Linked DNA regions of Homo sapiens: regions 2 and 3 are each linked to region 1. The links are contacts of gene promoters, found by promoter capture Hi-C in human tissues and cell types (Jung and others, 2019). All regions are on one chromosome and are shown on one strand. Each heading gives the region's core, a stretch centred on a gene start or on the middle of the fragment in contact. The rest is flanking DNA. Distances are from core to core; before and after follow the strand shown.

Region 1 (4,862 bases), core at 1,055-3,554:
TCACCATGTTGGTTAGGCTGATCTTGAACTCCTGACCTCAAGCGATCTGCTCGCCCCAGCTTCCCAAAGTGCTGGCATTACAGGTGTGAGCCACCGCACCTGGCCATTTTTCTCTAAGAACGTCTTAAAACAATCTTATATAATAATTCATCTAAGTATGTGAGGCTTGTCTCTCTTTTACCTTTATAAACATGTGTTCATCCAAATATGACCTCAGCTTTCTTGTGTGAGAAACCAGCGCCACAGACTTCCAGCTTAATGTAAACTTCCAGTTTACATTACATTGGCAGTGCTGGAGAAACTGAAGACCCACTGACCCAGCACATGCACCCCGGAAGCACCAGATCTTGGCAGTAATAACCATTCCTAACTTTCTAAAACACAGTGTGCCACGAACAAAGTGTTTCACAAGTCTTAATTTACTGAGTCCTCACAACAACCCTATGAGGCCAATATTATTAGTGTTCCCATTTTACAGATGAGAAGCCAAAGGCACAGAGACCTTGCCGAAGACCACAAAGCCAGTAAACAGAAGAGTCGCGACTCAGAGGCGGGCAGCCTGGCTCCAGAACCCGCCCTCCTGTCCACTCTGCTCCCCTGCCTCTCAGGAAGACAGCTGGCTACACCAAGTGCAGGGAGCGAGGCGCCACCCCCATTCATTCACTCCAAGCATTTATGGCTACAGAGCCTGCGCCCAGGGCGGTTTATGGAATGAGTCTCCTCGATTTACAGCCACACCTCCTATCAAATCGCCTTTCCCTCCCCCGGCGCGAGAATCGCACCTTGCTCCTTGTGGATCGGGCGCCGCCGACGGAACCACCTGCTGTCTATAGAGGGCACCTAGGACGCAGCGTCCAATTCCCCTCACTGGCTTCAAAAGACAAATCTCCGTATTGTTGTACCAGGAGGCACGAGAAGCCTCACCACTGTAGGTTTTTCAGCAGAGGTCACTGGAGGTCTGGTTAAACCCGTACAGCACTGAGGGGGAGGGGGCCCGGCTGCGTTTCCGAAGCTGCGCAGCGCCCACAGCAGCTGCTGGTGGGAAGCGGCTCGGAACACACCCACAGCTGCCAAGGAGCCGGCTGCACGTTTTAAAATAAAAAACGTCCTGGGCCCCAAAATGCACAGCCCGCCTCTCTCGCCGCCCTGGGCACGGAACGCCGCCTCCACCCACAGCACTCCAGCAACTGGGAAGCAACCGGGAAGCAACCGAGGGAATTCCAGCTCGGGGGGCAACCGGGAGGGGAAGGCTCCGAGCGCCGGAGCCCCAGCCCGCGCCTGCCGCAGAGGCGAGGCCGCAGAGCCCACCCGCAGGCGGCCATGACCCCACCTGGAGACGCCCATGTCCGCTCCCTGCGCCCCGGGGACAAAGCCCGAGGCTGCACCGCAGCGCACCGCAGCCCTGCACCCGGGCCGCCCTTCAGGACGCGGGCACCAGACCCGACCGGCGGGCATCCACCTTGTCCCCACTCCGACGGCGCCCGGGAATGCGGCCGGTGCCCCGAGCTCAGGCTGGGCACACGTGCACCCACACCCACCACGGGCGGGGTCCCCTCACACCCCCCTCGGGCAGGGGCACACTCACACCCATCTAGGGCCGGGCACACTCACACCTCCCTCGGGCAGGAGCACACTCACACCCCCCTGGGGCCGGACACACCCACACTCCCCTCGGGCCGGGCACACTCATACCCACCGTGGACAGGGGCACACTCACACTCACTCTGGACAGGGGCACACCCACACCCACATTGGGGCCGGGCACACTCACACCCACCTAGGGCAGGGACACAACTCACTCTGGACAGGGTACAGTCACACCCACTTCGGGCCGGGCACACGCGAACTCACCCACCCTCACACTCCCAGCCCGGCCCGTCGGCGCGCACCCGGGCCCCGCGCGGCCTCGGCCCCTCGAGCCTCCGCGCCCCCCGCCCGGCCGGGCCCCGCACACCCACGCCCCCTCCCTCCACGGCCCAGTCACAGCCCCTCCCGCCGCTGCAGTCGCCGCGGGCCTGGATTCCTTGCGCTGCCGGGCCTGGAGCCTCCGCCGAGGCTGGGCCAGGACCACGGGGACCGCAGCGCCGGCCCCTCCGCCATCTTCTTGGCCCGCGCCGCCCACCGCCCGTTGCCCGCGCTCTCACCGGCCGGCTGCGCGCGGGCCGCGCCGCCACAGTCCCTCATCCCGGCCCGCGCGACGCGCGTGAGCCAGCCGCCGCTCCCCGGCCTCTCTGCTGCTCCGCCGCTGCTGCCGCGGCAGCCCGTGCTGTCGGCGTCCTCCGCCGCCGCCGCCGGCCCAGTGCGCGGCGGCCGCGCGTCCTCCCGTCACCAAGCGCAACCCCCCGCCTCCGGCTCCGCCCCCGCGGCGGTCACTACCCGCCGCCAGGGGGCACTGCCTCGCGAGGCCGCATCACGCATGCGCTGGCGCGCGGCATGCCGGGAGCCGGAGTCCCGCGGAGGGCGCGCGCGGCATGCTGGGAGCCGCCTGGCCCCGCCCCGTCGCCGCGCCAGAGGCCTCCCGCGCGGACCTACCCTGTGAGTTAGCGGTGTCTTCCCGTCTCTTTCGGTGCAGAGCAGTTACCATCTGACACGTCTCGGTGTGGTTTGGTGTAATTTTGCCCTCTCAAACCACGTTGGGCTTCCCGAGTCTGAGATTTCACTTTTCTTCGACTCTAGAAATACAGCCATTCTTCTCAAAACGTGGGCTGCCCTGTTCCTCAGTCCTTCTTGTGGCGGGCTCGTGTCTCTTCACCTCCTGTTATTCTCACCTTTTTAGTCCTGTCACTTTTACTCGGTAATTCACTCAGCTGCAGCTCGACTAGTGCTCTATTCGGCGTTTTCTAATCTGCGTTCAGCCTGGTTTTCTAGATTCTCTTAGTGCCAGGTGCGTTTCTGGAAATTGAATCTGACTGGCATTTCTGGAGAAACGGAGGCTAAACAGCCTGAAGCTTCGATAGTAGAAGACAGGGGCGCACACCCTTCAGTCCTGGACATTCCCTGGGTCCTCAACTGTGAGAAGCCGCAAAGGGCTGAAAGGCCCCCGTCAAAAGTCATCCGTGGAGCTCCACCTCCTGCCCTGCAGCTCAGTCGCCTTGCAGGGACTCTCCCGCCTCAGGAGATCTCCCGTCGGGCTGTCTCGCCGCCCGCGCTTCCCTGTTGGGCCGTCGTCACACTTCACTCTTCACTCTTATACACAGGGCTCTGCTTTTTCGCCTCCCGCTCCCTCTCCACTGTATTCACTTAGAAAACCCAACTGGGCGAGCCCAACCCTTCTCCTCCATGACTGCTGAAGAAAATCACACATCCAGGCTGACTGCCTTCACCTTAAACTTGTGACAACACACTGGCGGCGAGCACTTCCCACCCCCGTGACCACACACTGGCGGCGACCATTTCCCACCCCTGTGACCACGCACTGGCGGCGAGCACTTCCCACCCCCGTGACCACACACTGGCGGCGACCATTTCCCACCCCCGTGACCACGCACTGGCGGCGAGCACTTCCCACCCCCGTGACCACGCACTGGCGGCGAGCACTTCCCACCCCGTGACCACACACTGGCGGCGACCATTTCCCACCCCCGTGACCACGCACTGGCGGCGAGCATTTCCCACCCCCGTGACCACACACTGGCGGCGAGCACTTCCCACCCCCGTGACCACACACTGGCGGCGACCATTTCCCACCCCCGTGACCACACACTGGCGGTGAGCACTTCCCACCCCGTGACCACGCACTGGCGGCGAGCACTTCCCACCCCGTGACCACGCACTGGCGGCGAGCACTTCCCACCCCTGTGACCACGCACTGGCGGCGAGCATTTCCCACCCCTGTGACCACGCACTGGCGGCGAGCACTTCCCACCCCGTGACCACACACTGGCGGTGAGCATTTCCCACCCCGTGACCACACACTGGCGGTGAGCACTTCCCACCCCTGTGACCACACACTGGCGGTGAGCACTTCCCACCCCGTGACCACACACTGGCGGTGAGCACTTCCCACCCCGTGACCACACACTGGCGGTGAGCAGTTCCCACCCCGTGACCACACACTGGCGGTGAGCACTTCCCACCCCGTGACCACACACTGGCGGTGAGCACTTCCCACCCCCGTGACCACACACTAGCAGTGAGCACTTCCCACCCCGTGACCACACACTAGCGGTGAGCACTTCCCACCCCGTGACCACACATTTACAGTGAGCACTTCCCACCCCTGTGACCACACACTGGCGGTGAGCACTTCCCACCCCGTGACCACACACTGGCGGTGAGCACTTCCCACCCCCGTGACCACACACTAGCAGTGAGCACTTCCCACCCCGTGACCACACATTTACAGTGAACACTTCCCACCCCGTGACCACACACTGGCGGTGAGCACTTCCCACCCCGTGACCACACATTTACAGTGAGCACTTCCCAACCCCGTGACCACATACTAGCGGTGAGCACTTCCCACCCCCATGACCACACATTTACAGTGAGCATTTCCCACCCTGGTGACCACACACTTAACTAATTAAAAATATACAAAATATTTATAGAGGACATTTAACTCTTTTTTTTTTTTTTTTGAGATGGAGTCTTGCTGTGTCACCTAGGCTGGAGTACAGTGGCGCCATCTTGGCTCATTGCAACCTCTGCCTTCTGGGTTCAAGCAATTCTCCTGCCTCAACCTCTTGAGTAGTTGGGATTACAGGTGCCCACCACAACTCCTGGCTAATTTTTTGTATTTTTAGTAGAAATAGGGTTTCACCGTGTTGGCCAGGCTCCTCTCAAACTCCTGACCTCAAGTGATTCACCCACCTCAGCCTCCCAAAGTGTTGGGATTACAGGCGTGAGCCACCACACCTGGC
Region 2 (4,862 bases), core at 954-3,453, 360 kb before region 1:
CACCAGCAGAAGTACAGGAAAGCCTTGCTGGTTTGCAAAGCAAGAAGGTGACTGCTCTCCCCTGCCTACCCCCAGGTGGCGGCTTGGCCCAAAGCTGGGACTACCCTCATCTCACACTAAAAAAAATCTCAATTCCCGGCCGGGCGCGGTGGCTCACACCTGTAATCCCAGCACTTTGGGAGGCCAAGGCAGGTGGATCACCTGAGTTCAGGAGTTCGAGACCAGCCTGACCAACATGGAGAAACCCCATCTCTACTAAAAATACAAAATTAGCCGGGTGTGGTGGGCGCCTCTAATCCCAGCTACTCTGGAGGCTGAGGCAGGAGAATCACTTGAACCTGGGAGGCAGAGGTTGCAGTGAGCCAAGAATGTGCCATTTTACTCCAGCCTGGGCAACAAGAGCAAAACTAGTCTCAAAAAAAAAGAAAAGAAAAAAAAAGAAATCTCAATTCCCACGTCCTCCACAGGTCATGTAGCCATCCCCCTGCCTCCTGGAGAGAGGGTAACTCCAGGAGCCACACCTCCTTTTCAGGTAGGAGGTGCCTAGGCCAGCCTCCCTCACCAGCACCCCAGGCCCACAGCAGGCAAGCACCCCTCTCAGGAGGGCCACCCTCCTCCCCACGGCCCCTTCAAGGCCTCCGTGCCCGACCTTTGTCCATGTTGCTCCATGCCTGACTCTCGCTGAGGTTATCTTATCTCCCAGATGAACTGAGCACCCTGAGGGCCACGACAGTGCCTGCCCTCCCCCAACCCCCTCCCCATGGTGCCCCGTGAAGGAAAGCTCTGTTCTTGCTCACTGAGAGAGCAAATCATTGCCAACTACATGTCCAAAATCAGCCCACTTCTGCCTTGATAACCTCTAGGCCCTCAGCTGCTCTCTAAAACAAAGCCCTGAGGGCCCCTGGGCCAGGGTAAAGGCCATAAAGGGGGGATGGAGGGTGGCAAGGGGATTGCTCAAGGCCAGCTTGGTGGAGGAAGCCAATGCCCAGGCTGGCCAAGTCCTTCCCATCGGCCATGGTTCTCTCCCTCCACCCCTCTCTGTCAGTCATCCAGCTGAGCAGGGCACACGCCTGCAGGTGTGTCCACCACCCCCATACCCCACTCCCCACCTGGAGGATGGAAGTCCCAACACAGAACCCAACTCTCTGTCCCTACAACAGACGCTGGCTCTGGCAACATCGGCAGGGCTCCAGGCCAGCCTAACCACTGGAGCAATGAATGGGCCACGCAGCCACTCTCAGAAGGGTCTGCAAGGACAAGAACGCCTCTAACACTGCCCCTTGTCCGGGGCAGCTGCTGATTCCCCTGTCCTCGGACAGGCCTGGGCTCCTCTGGCCCCCTCCCTGGCAGGCCAGCCCTCCTCTGGGAGCCTTTCCTACCCGCAAGGCACCGCTCATAGCACCAAGAAGGAACCTATCACCACAAACTGCCCAGATCTTATCTGACTCCTTCCATATAAGGGGACACTGTCCAGGGCCGGGCCCCCACCAGCCCGCCCCTCGAAAAGCTCCTCAGGAGCCCCTGAGGATGCACAGACCCAAGAGGATCTGGATGCGGGACACCTGCCGGCTCCCCTCTGCCTGGCCAAGGCCAGCTCCAGAGCCCCTACCCAGTGACCTTGTCAGGTGACTCTCCCCAAGCCTCAGTTTCCCCACAGGGCCCATAGGGCACACCGATCCCCGCTTAGCCCAGGGCCCATGTTCTCGGACTCGGAGCTCGCGCTTCGGCCAACCCCGGAAAGTCGCGGGGCCCTTGGGTCAGAGGTTAGGGGGTCAGGCGCTCCGCTACCTCAGCTCCCAGTGGCCGCTGCCCACGCCGGCGTCTCCGTCCTTGTTGGGGGCCGGGGCTGGCGCGTCCCCCGCGGCTCCCACGTCGGGGCCCGCAGCGGCGTCCCGCACCTCCTCTTCCGCCGCCGCAGGCCCGCCGCCGCCGTGGCTCGAGGGCCGCGACCCTGTCCTCCGGCGCCGGGAGCTGCCGCGGTCGCCCATGGCCTCAGCCCGCACCCGGCCGCAGCCAAGCGTGGGCCCGCCGGGTTCGTAGCGCCCGAGGCGCGCGGCCCCACCTCCGGGCCCTAGACAACGGCCGCCACTGCCCCCTGCCGGCCGCCGTAGCCCGGGTGACCGCCTCACCAGCGCGTTCAACCCGCCCGCGTCGGGCCCGTCGGCCTCAAGGACAACGGCTGCGTTGCTCCGGAGCCGCTAACTAATGGACGGCCGCCTCTCTCGTCCATTTGTAGTCCGCGGCCGACCTGAGGCGGGGCCTGGAGAGGCTGACGGGGCGCAGGGCACCCTGGGAGTCGTAGTCGCCGCGGGCGCGCCGGCGCAGAGCACCCTGGGAGTCGTAGTCGCCGCGGCCGCACCGGCGCAGAGCACCCTGGGAGCCGTGGCAGCTCCCAGGGCCGGGGCTGCGGGCCGCAAGTGCGCGCAGCGGGAACGGACCTTGCATCGCTCCCGCGTGGTCCCGGGGTCCTGTCCGGCCCCACGGAGCGGGATGGTCCGCTGAGGGGTGCGCTGGGCCCCGACTTCCTGGCCGCTGTGCGCCCGCCCCTCGTCCCACTTGTGTACACACGGGGTCTCGGCGAGTCACTCCGGGCAATCATTTAGGAAGCGCCTAGTGCGCCACGGTCCAGCTGTCCGGGCCGGTGTCCGCGGCGGCTCGCGTCGCCCGCCACCCAGCGCGTTGGTTTCTGCGCACGCAGCTTACAGTAACGTCCCTGGCGCGCTTCTGCTCCGCGAGCCCTCTGGTTACCCCGGCAGGAACCTGCTTTTCTTCGCCTTAGGGGGACGTCAGACAAGGGCCAGGTCAGAAGACCAAGCTGGAGAAATGCACCAGGCCCTGCGTCACCGGGACGCCTGCCTTGCACGCGACTCCCAGGCTCTCCACCTCCCCGCCTGCAGAGCCCGGCGAGAGGAGGGCGAGGGCGAGGGCGAGGGCGCAGGCCCCTTGGTGGTGTCTTCTCAGCCCACCCACTCTCTCCACAAGGAGCTCCACGTCCCTCAACTCTCAGGGCCTCCCAGTTTCCAACGTGGGCCAGCCTCTCCAGGATGTCAGAAGTCTGGGCCGCTGGATCGCCGGGACTCAAGAGGCTTCTGTGCATTTGCACGGCCTGTGCAACCGCCCTGTTGTTTTTTGTTTTCTTTTTTCTTTTTTTGAGACAGTCTCACTCTGTCGCCAGGCTGGAGTGCAGTAGCGCGATCTCGTCTCACTGCAACCTCCACCTCCTGGGTTCAAGCGATTCTCCTGCCTCAGCCTCCCGAGTAGCCAGGACTACAGGCGCGTGCCACCACGCCCAGCTAATTTTTCTGTTTTTAGTAGAGACGGGCTTTCACCATATTGGCCAGGCTGGTCTCGATCTCCTGACCTCGTGATCCGCCCACCTCGGCCTCCCAAAGTGCTGGGATTATAGGCGCAAGCCACCGCGCCTGGCCTGTTGTTATTTTTTCTAAAGATGGGGGTCTCGCTATTCTGCCCAGGCTGGTCTCGAACTCCTGGCCTCACGCAATCCTCCCACCTCGGCCTCTGAAGGTGCTGGGATTACAGGTATGAGCCACTGCCCCAGACATCTTGTATGTTAAATGAAGCAACTAATCAACTGTAACAGCCACAGTTGCGGCCCACCTTGGCTTGGTGTGCATATTGCACAGGGCATGGAGTGAGAACATCCTGGATCTCAGGATGCCAGGGTTCACTGAGGACTCTGACTCTAGAAACACCTTCATTCCTCTGGGGTGAGCAGGGGCAAGCAGCACTTCTCTGGAAGCAAACAGGTGCTCCTCCTGAGGTGGGGTCCTCTCCCGTGGGCTGGTCACAGCCTCGCCTCTGAGCTCCGTCCTCTTCCACCACCTCCACCAACAGTGGCCAGCAGGGCTGCCCCCTTGGTTGCCCCCCTGGTGACATATTCTTGTCACCACAGGCCGCTGTGGGTTGCTGCCAACCAGGTATCAGGCAGGCTGGAGCTACCTGGCAGATGCCCTTTGTGTAGCCTGCCGAGTGGGGCCGCCCTCACTGGACCCAAGAGCCCCTCACACATGGGCCTTGGTCGGTCAGGACCAGCCCCATCTCCTACCCAGTCTCTCAGAATATTCATTTGTTGAATGCAGTCGCTGGCAGACACACTCTGTGGCCAGGTAGGCCCAGACCTGTCTGAGTATGGACTGACAGCAAGCTCAGAGAGGTCTGGACCTGGCCACGGAGCACCTCATGCTAGGCAGAGGAGATCAACGACTCAACCTGTGGTCGCGTCCCAACTCAAAGCCGGCAAGTGGCCACAGGAGAAAGACAATGGGAGGGTGGACTGGACCACCAGGGAGGATGGGTCGGGCCTGGTGAGCAGAGCCAGGCTTGGAGCCAATGGGGAAAGCACTGGCTGTGGGCGGGCCATTAAGGAAGGGCTTTGCCACCGGGGGTGGGGGCGTGGCGGGGCAGCAGCTCCAGAGGTGGGTGAAGCCCTGCCCAGACAGGCCCTATACCCTGGGATCTAGGGTGAGGGGAATGGTCAGGGTAGGTGAGGTTGGTTGGGGACAAGGGTGTGTATGGCTGGGTCATCGAGGAAAGCATGATGCAGATCACCCTGCTGGGGGCAGCAACAAATGAGGGGGCCCAAGCCCGAAGCGAGTTGCCTTCCAGGGCTAGTGGAATAAAGGGCTGGAAGTGGGTTGGGGCCTCAGGCTGATCCCAGGGCCTAGGGGCCATGGGTGGGCCAAGAAGGCCTGTGAGAAGCAAGGGTCCCAGGAGAGTTCACAGCCAGTGGTGGTCTATGGCCTGTGCTGCTCATTCAGAGGGAAACTTGTGTCTGTGGCTGGGAGGAACTGGGGGGTCGAGCTCATCCCAGGCCTCAGGGAGGCCACCTCCATCCTTCCACC
Region 3 (4,862 bases), core at 661-3,160, 330 kb after region 1:
TTCCATTCTCCCCATCACTTTCAGGTACACCAATCAGATGTAGATTTGGTCTTTTCACATAGTCCCATATTTCTTGGAGGCTTTGTTCCATTTCTTTTTACTCTTTTTTCTCTAAACTTCTCTTCTCACATCATTTCATTCATTTGATCTTCAATCACTGATACCCTTTCTTCCAGTTGATTGAATCAGCTACTGAAGCTTGCACATGTAGTTCTCGTGCCATGGCTTTCAGCTCCATCAGGTCATTTAAGGTCTTCTCTACCCTGGTTATTCAGTTAGCCATTCGTCTAATCTTTTTTCAAGGTTTTTAGCTTCTTTGTGATGGGTTCAAACATCCTCCTTTAGCTCAGAGAAGTTTGATCATCTGAAGCTTTCTTCTCTCAACTCATCAAAGTCATTCTCCATCCAGGTTTGATCTATTGCTGGTGAGGAGCTGCATTCCTTTGGAGGAGAAGAGGTGCTCTGATTTTTAGAATTTTCAGCTTTTCTGCTCTGGCTTCTCCCCATCTTTGTGTTTTTATCTACCTTTTGTCTTTGATGATGGTCACGTACAGATGGGGTTTTGGTGTGGATGTACTTTTTGTTTGTTAGTTTTCCTTCTAATAGTCAGAACCCTCAGCTGCAGGTCTGTTGGAGTTTGCTGGAGGTCCACTCTAGATCCTGTTTGCCTGGATATGACCAGTAGAGGCTACAGAATAGCGAATATTGCAGAATAGCAAATGTTGCTGCCTGATCATTCCTCTGGAAGCTTCATCTCAGAGGGGTACCCGGCCGTGTGAGGTATCAGTCAGCCCCTACTGGGAGGTGCCTCCCAGTTAGGGTACTCAGGTGTCAGGGAGCCACTTGAGGAGGCAGTCTGTTTGTTCTCAGATCTCAAACTCCATGCTGGGAGAACCACTACTCTCTTCAAAGCTGTCAGACAGGGACATTTAAGTCTGCAGAAGATTCTGCTGCCTTTTGTTCAGCTATGCCCTGCACCCAGAGGTGGAGTCTGCAGAGGCTGGTAGGCCTCCTTGAGCTGCAGTGGGCTCCATCCAGTTCAAGCTTCCCAGCCGCTTTGTTTACCTACTGAAGTCTCAGCAATGGTGGGCGCCCCTCCCCCAGCCTTGCTGCCACCTTGCAGTTCGATCTCAGACTGCTGTGCTAGCAATGAGCAAGGCTCCATGGGTGTGGGACCCTCCAAGCCAGGTGTAGGAAATAATCTCCTGGTGTGCCATTTGCTAAGACCATTGGAACAGCACAGTATTAGGGTGGGAGTGACCCGATTTTCCAGGTGCCATCTGTCACAGCTTCCCTTGGCTAGGAAAGGGAATTCCCTGACCCCTTGCACTTCCCAGGTGAGGTGGTGCCTTGCCCTGCTTCAGGTCTCACTCGGTGGGCTGCACCCACTGTCCTGCACCCACTGTCTGACAAGCTCCAGTGAGATGAACCTGGTATTTCAGTTGGAAATGCAGAAATCACCTGTCTTCTGCATCGCTCATGCTGGGAGCTCTAGACTGGAACTGTTCCTATTTGGCCATCTTGGAACCTCCCATGTAGGTTACCATTTTTAGGGGTGGTCACTGTTGAGCCTCCAAGTCCTATTCCCTTAAAATGGAAGACCCAAAATCCTGTTTGGGTTGAGCTGTGGCCACTTACTCAGGAAAAATTGGGGGCCTTACAGGAATTAGTCAAAGAGCAATTAAACAAAGGAAGCATTGAGCCCACATTTTCTCCATAGAATTTGCCGGTGTTTGTAATAAAGAAAAAATCCAGCAGATGGCGCATGCTAACCGACTTACGTGTGGTGAACACATTCATTCAGCTGATTGGGGCCCTGCAGCTGGGGCTTCTATCCCCCACCATGATTCCTAGAGACTGGCCATTAGTAATTATAGATTTGAAGGATTGCTTTTTAAATATTCTTCTAGCAGAGTCTGATTTTGTGAAATTTGCTTTTACTATTCCTGCTATGAACAACAAGGAACCAGCAGCCAGATATCATTGGAAAGTCCTGCTGCAGGATATGTTGAATAGTCCTACTATTTGTCAAACTTTTGTGGGGAAGGCTATTCCACCTGTGAGAGATCAGTTTCCTGATTCATATATCATTCATTTTATGGATGACATATTGGGTACGGTCAAAAGTTAAGACTGACTTATCCAGTGTTATTCATATTTACAGGAGGTGGTAGCCAATGCTGGATTGCTCATAGCACCAGATAAAATTCAAACATCCACTCCTTTCCAATATTTGGGAATGCAGGATCAGGAAAGGGCAATTAGACCCCAAGAGGTTCAAATTCAAAAAGACTCTCTGAAAACTTTAAATGATTTTCAAAAATTATTAGGGGATATCAATTGGATTTGACCTCCTTTGGGAATCCCTACCTATGCTATGTCTAATCTGTTCTCTATTTTAAGAGGTGACCCTGCTCTCAATAGTAAATGAGAACTGACTCCTGAGACTGCCAAAGAATTACAAATGATTGAAGAAAAAATACAACAGGCCCAGGTTAATAGAATAGACTCAAATTTACCATTACAGTTCATTGTGTTCCCTACTCTCCATTCTTCTACAGGGGTTACAGTTCAGAGTGAGGACTTAGTTGAATGGTCTTTTCTGCCTCACAATACTGTTAGAACACTCACAGTATACTTGGATCAGATGGCAATCTTGATTGGGCAAGCTCACCTTAGAGTTGTTAAACTTTGTGGCTCAGATCCAGATAAGATTATAGTTCCAATGAATAAAAATCAGATTTGGAAAGCCTTTGTTAATTCAGTCAATTGGCAAATAGATTTAGCTGGCTTCATTGGAGTTCTTGATAATCTGAAGGGGTGGCCTGCCCCTCCACACCTGTGGGTATTTCTAGTCAGGTGGGATGGGAGACTGAGAAAAGAAATAAGACACAGTGACAAAGTATAGAGAAACAACAGTGGGCCCAGGAGAGCGGCACTCGGCACACCAAGGACCTGCACCGGCACCGGTCTCTGAGTTCCCTCAGTTTTTATTGATTATTATTTTCATGATTTCAGCAGAAAGGAATGTAGTAGGAGAGCAGGGTGATAATAAGGAGAAGGTCAGCAAAAAGCATGTGAGCAAAGGAATCTATGTCATAATTAAGTTCAAGGGAAAGTACTATGCCTGGATGTGCACATAGGCCAGATTTATGTTTCTCTCCACCCAAACATCTCAGTGGAGTAAAGAATAACAAGGCAGCATTGCTGCCAACATGTCTCACCTCCCACCATAGGGCGGTTTTTCTCCTATCTCAGAATTGAACAAATGTACAATCGGGTTTTATACCAAGACGTTCAGTTCCCAGGGGCAGGCAGGAGACAGTGGCCTTCCTCTATCTCAACTGCAAGAGGCTTTCCTCTTTTACCAATCCACCTCAGCACAGACCCTTTACGGGTGTCGGGCTGGGGGACAGTCAGGTCTTTCTCATCTCATGAGGCCATATTTCCGACTATCACATGGGGAGAAACCTTGGACGATACCCAGCTTTCAAGGGCAGAGTTCCCTGTGGGTTTCTGCAGTGCATTATGCCTGTGGTTTGTTGACACTAGAGAATGGCAATGACTTTTGCCAAGTATACTGCTTGTAAACATTTTGTTAACAAGGCACATCCTGCACAGCCCTAGATCCCTTAAACCTTGACTTCATACAACACATGTTTTTATGAGCTCCAGGTTGGGTCAAAGTGGCTGGGGCAAAACTACAAATTAACAACATCTGAGCAAAGCAATTGTTCAAAGTACAGGTCTTTTTCAAAATGGAGTCTCTTATGTCTTCCCTTTCTACATAGACACAGTAACAGTCTGATCTCTCTCTCTTTTCCCTACATATCCCCCTTTTCTTTTTGACAAAACCGCCATCATCATCATGGTCCGTTCTCGCTAGCCGCTGTCTCTCCGGAGCTGCTGGATACACCTGTAGACTAACAATAGAGAGGACAGACATACAAGGATTAATACAAAATTTGCAATAGTGGAATTTCCAATGGTTTTAACCCAAGTGACAGGTTTAAGATTCGTGAGGCTATCAACAGCTTTTTCCATTGCCTCAGTTTCTGGCACCAAATTTAACTGGGCTTTGGATGTTTTAAAAATTTGTTCTTTCAATTTTGAAATATCTAAAGTAAGATTATCTTCTCTTCCTTGTAGATGGCATCTAACCATGTCCCAGTGATGTTCAGATTCATTATAGGCTTGAGGTGTAATACAAAAATCTGATGTATTGTAGTCACACAGTAACTGAAAAAGATATTCCAAACTTATGAGCCTATCTCCCATCCAAATGACAGTTTGTCTAAGATCATTAATTTGATTTGCCAATTTTTGATCTATTTGAGTCTGAGAATTCCACAATTTTGAGGAATTCTTTTGCCAATTATTCACATATTCTGCAGTGTGAACAGAGGAGGGTAAAGCAATTACAGCAGCCCTAGCAGCAGCTGTGACTGCAATAAGACCCATAATCACTGCAATTAAAGTAAAAATGAATCTTTTAGATCTAGTTAGAACTCCTTTTAATACTTCTGTTAAGATATGTACGGATGGAGAAGCCTCCCACGGTCGGTCCATGGACACAGGGATCCTCGCACCCTCTCTTGCCCTCACTAACAGAATACGATGCTGCCAATCAAAAGTTGAATCAATGCAAGTAAACAATCTACAATTTTCACAGGTTATAGTTTGGGAATCTGGTTTAATAACTATGTTTCCTACAACTAGCATATGAGGGGGTTTTACATAACTTTGCAAAGGAATTGTCGGATTGGATTTTAGGTTAATAGTAAAATATGGTTTATGATTTCTTGTTCCCATAACTTGATTTCCAGACCAAATTCTAATGTGGTATGAGGCCACAGTGAGCT

What was found. Contacts are between HindIII fragments. The study calls those that stand out against the background at their distance.
Region 2: a contact is called between the fragment with the promoter of DGAT1 here and the fragment with the promoter of ARHGAP39 in region 1, in 6 of the 25 tissues and cell types used here (aorta, dorsolateral prefrontal cortex, heart left ventricle and 3 more).
Region 3: a contact is called between a fragment that was not itself captured here and the fragment with the promoter of ARHGAP39 in region 1, in 4 of the 25 tissues and cell types used here (dorsolateral prefrontal cortex, lymphoblastoid cells, mesenchymal stem cells and 1 more).

The regions. Positions count from the first base shown.
Region 1 is chr8:144,683,542-144,688,403 of GRCh38, forward strand. It overlaps ARHGAP39 (Rho GTPase activating protein 39), which reads right to left and starts at 2,305. Exons shown (of 12, transcript NM_025251.3): 1 at 2,145-2,305. RefSeq lists enhancers at 172-784, 785-1,397, 2,011-2,622, 3,809-4,681. The HindIII fragment of the contact is 13,771 bases long and covers 1-4,862 here.
Region 2 is chr8:144,324,649-144,329,510 of GRCh38, forward strand. DGAT1 (diacylglycerol O-acyltransferase 1) reads right to left here and starts at 2,204. Exons shown (of 17, transcript NM_012079.6): 1 at 1,789-2,204. The coding sequence starts at 1,988. RefSeq lists silencers at 1,831-1,900, 1,911-2,630. The HindIII fragment of the contact is 53,552 bases long and covers 1-4,862 here.
Region 3 is chr8:145,018,431-145,023,292 of GRCh38, forward strand. It overlaps the pseudogene LOC124902043. Among named protein-coding and RNA genes, the nearest start is that of ZNF252P-AS1, 18 kb to the left of the region's middle. The HindIII fragment of the contact is 6,395 bases long and covers 1-4,862 here.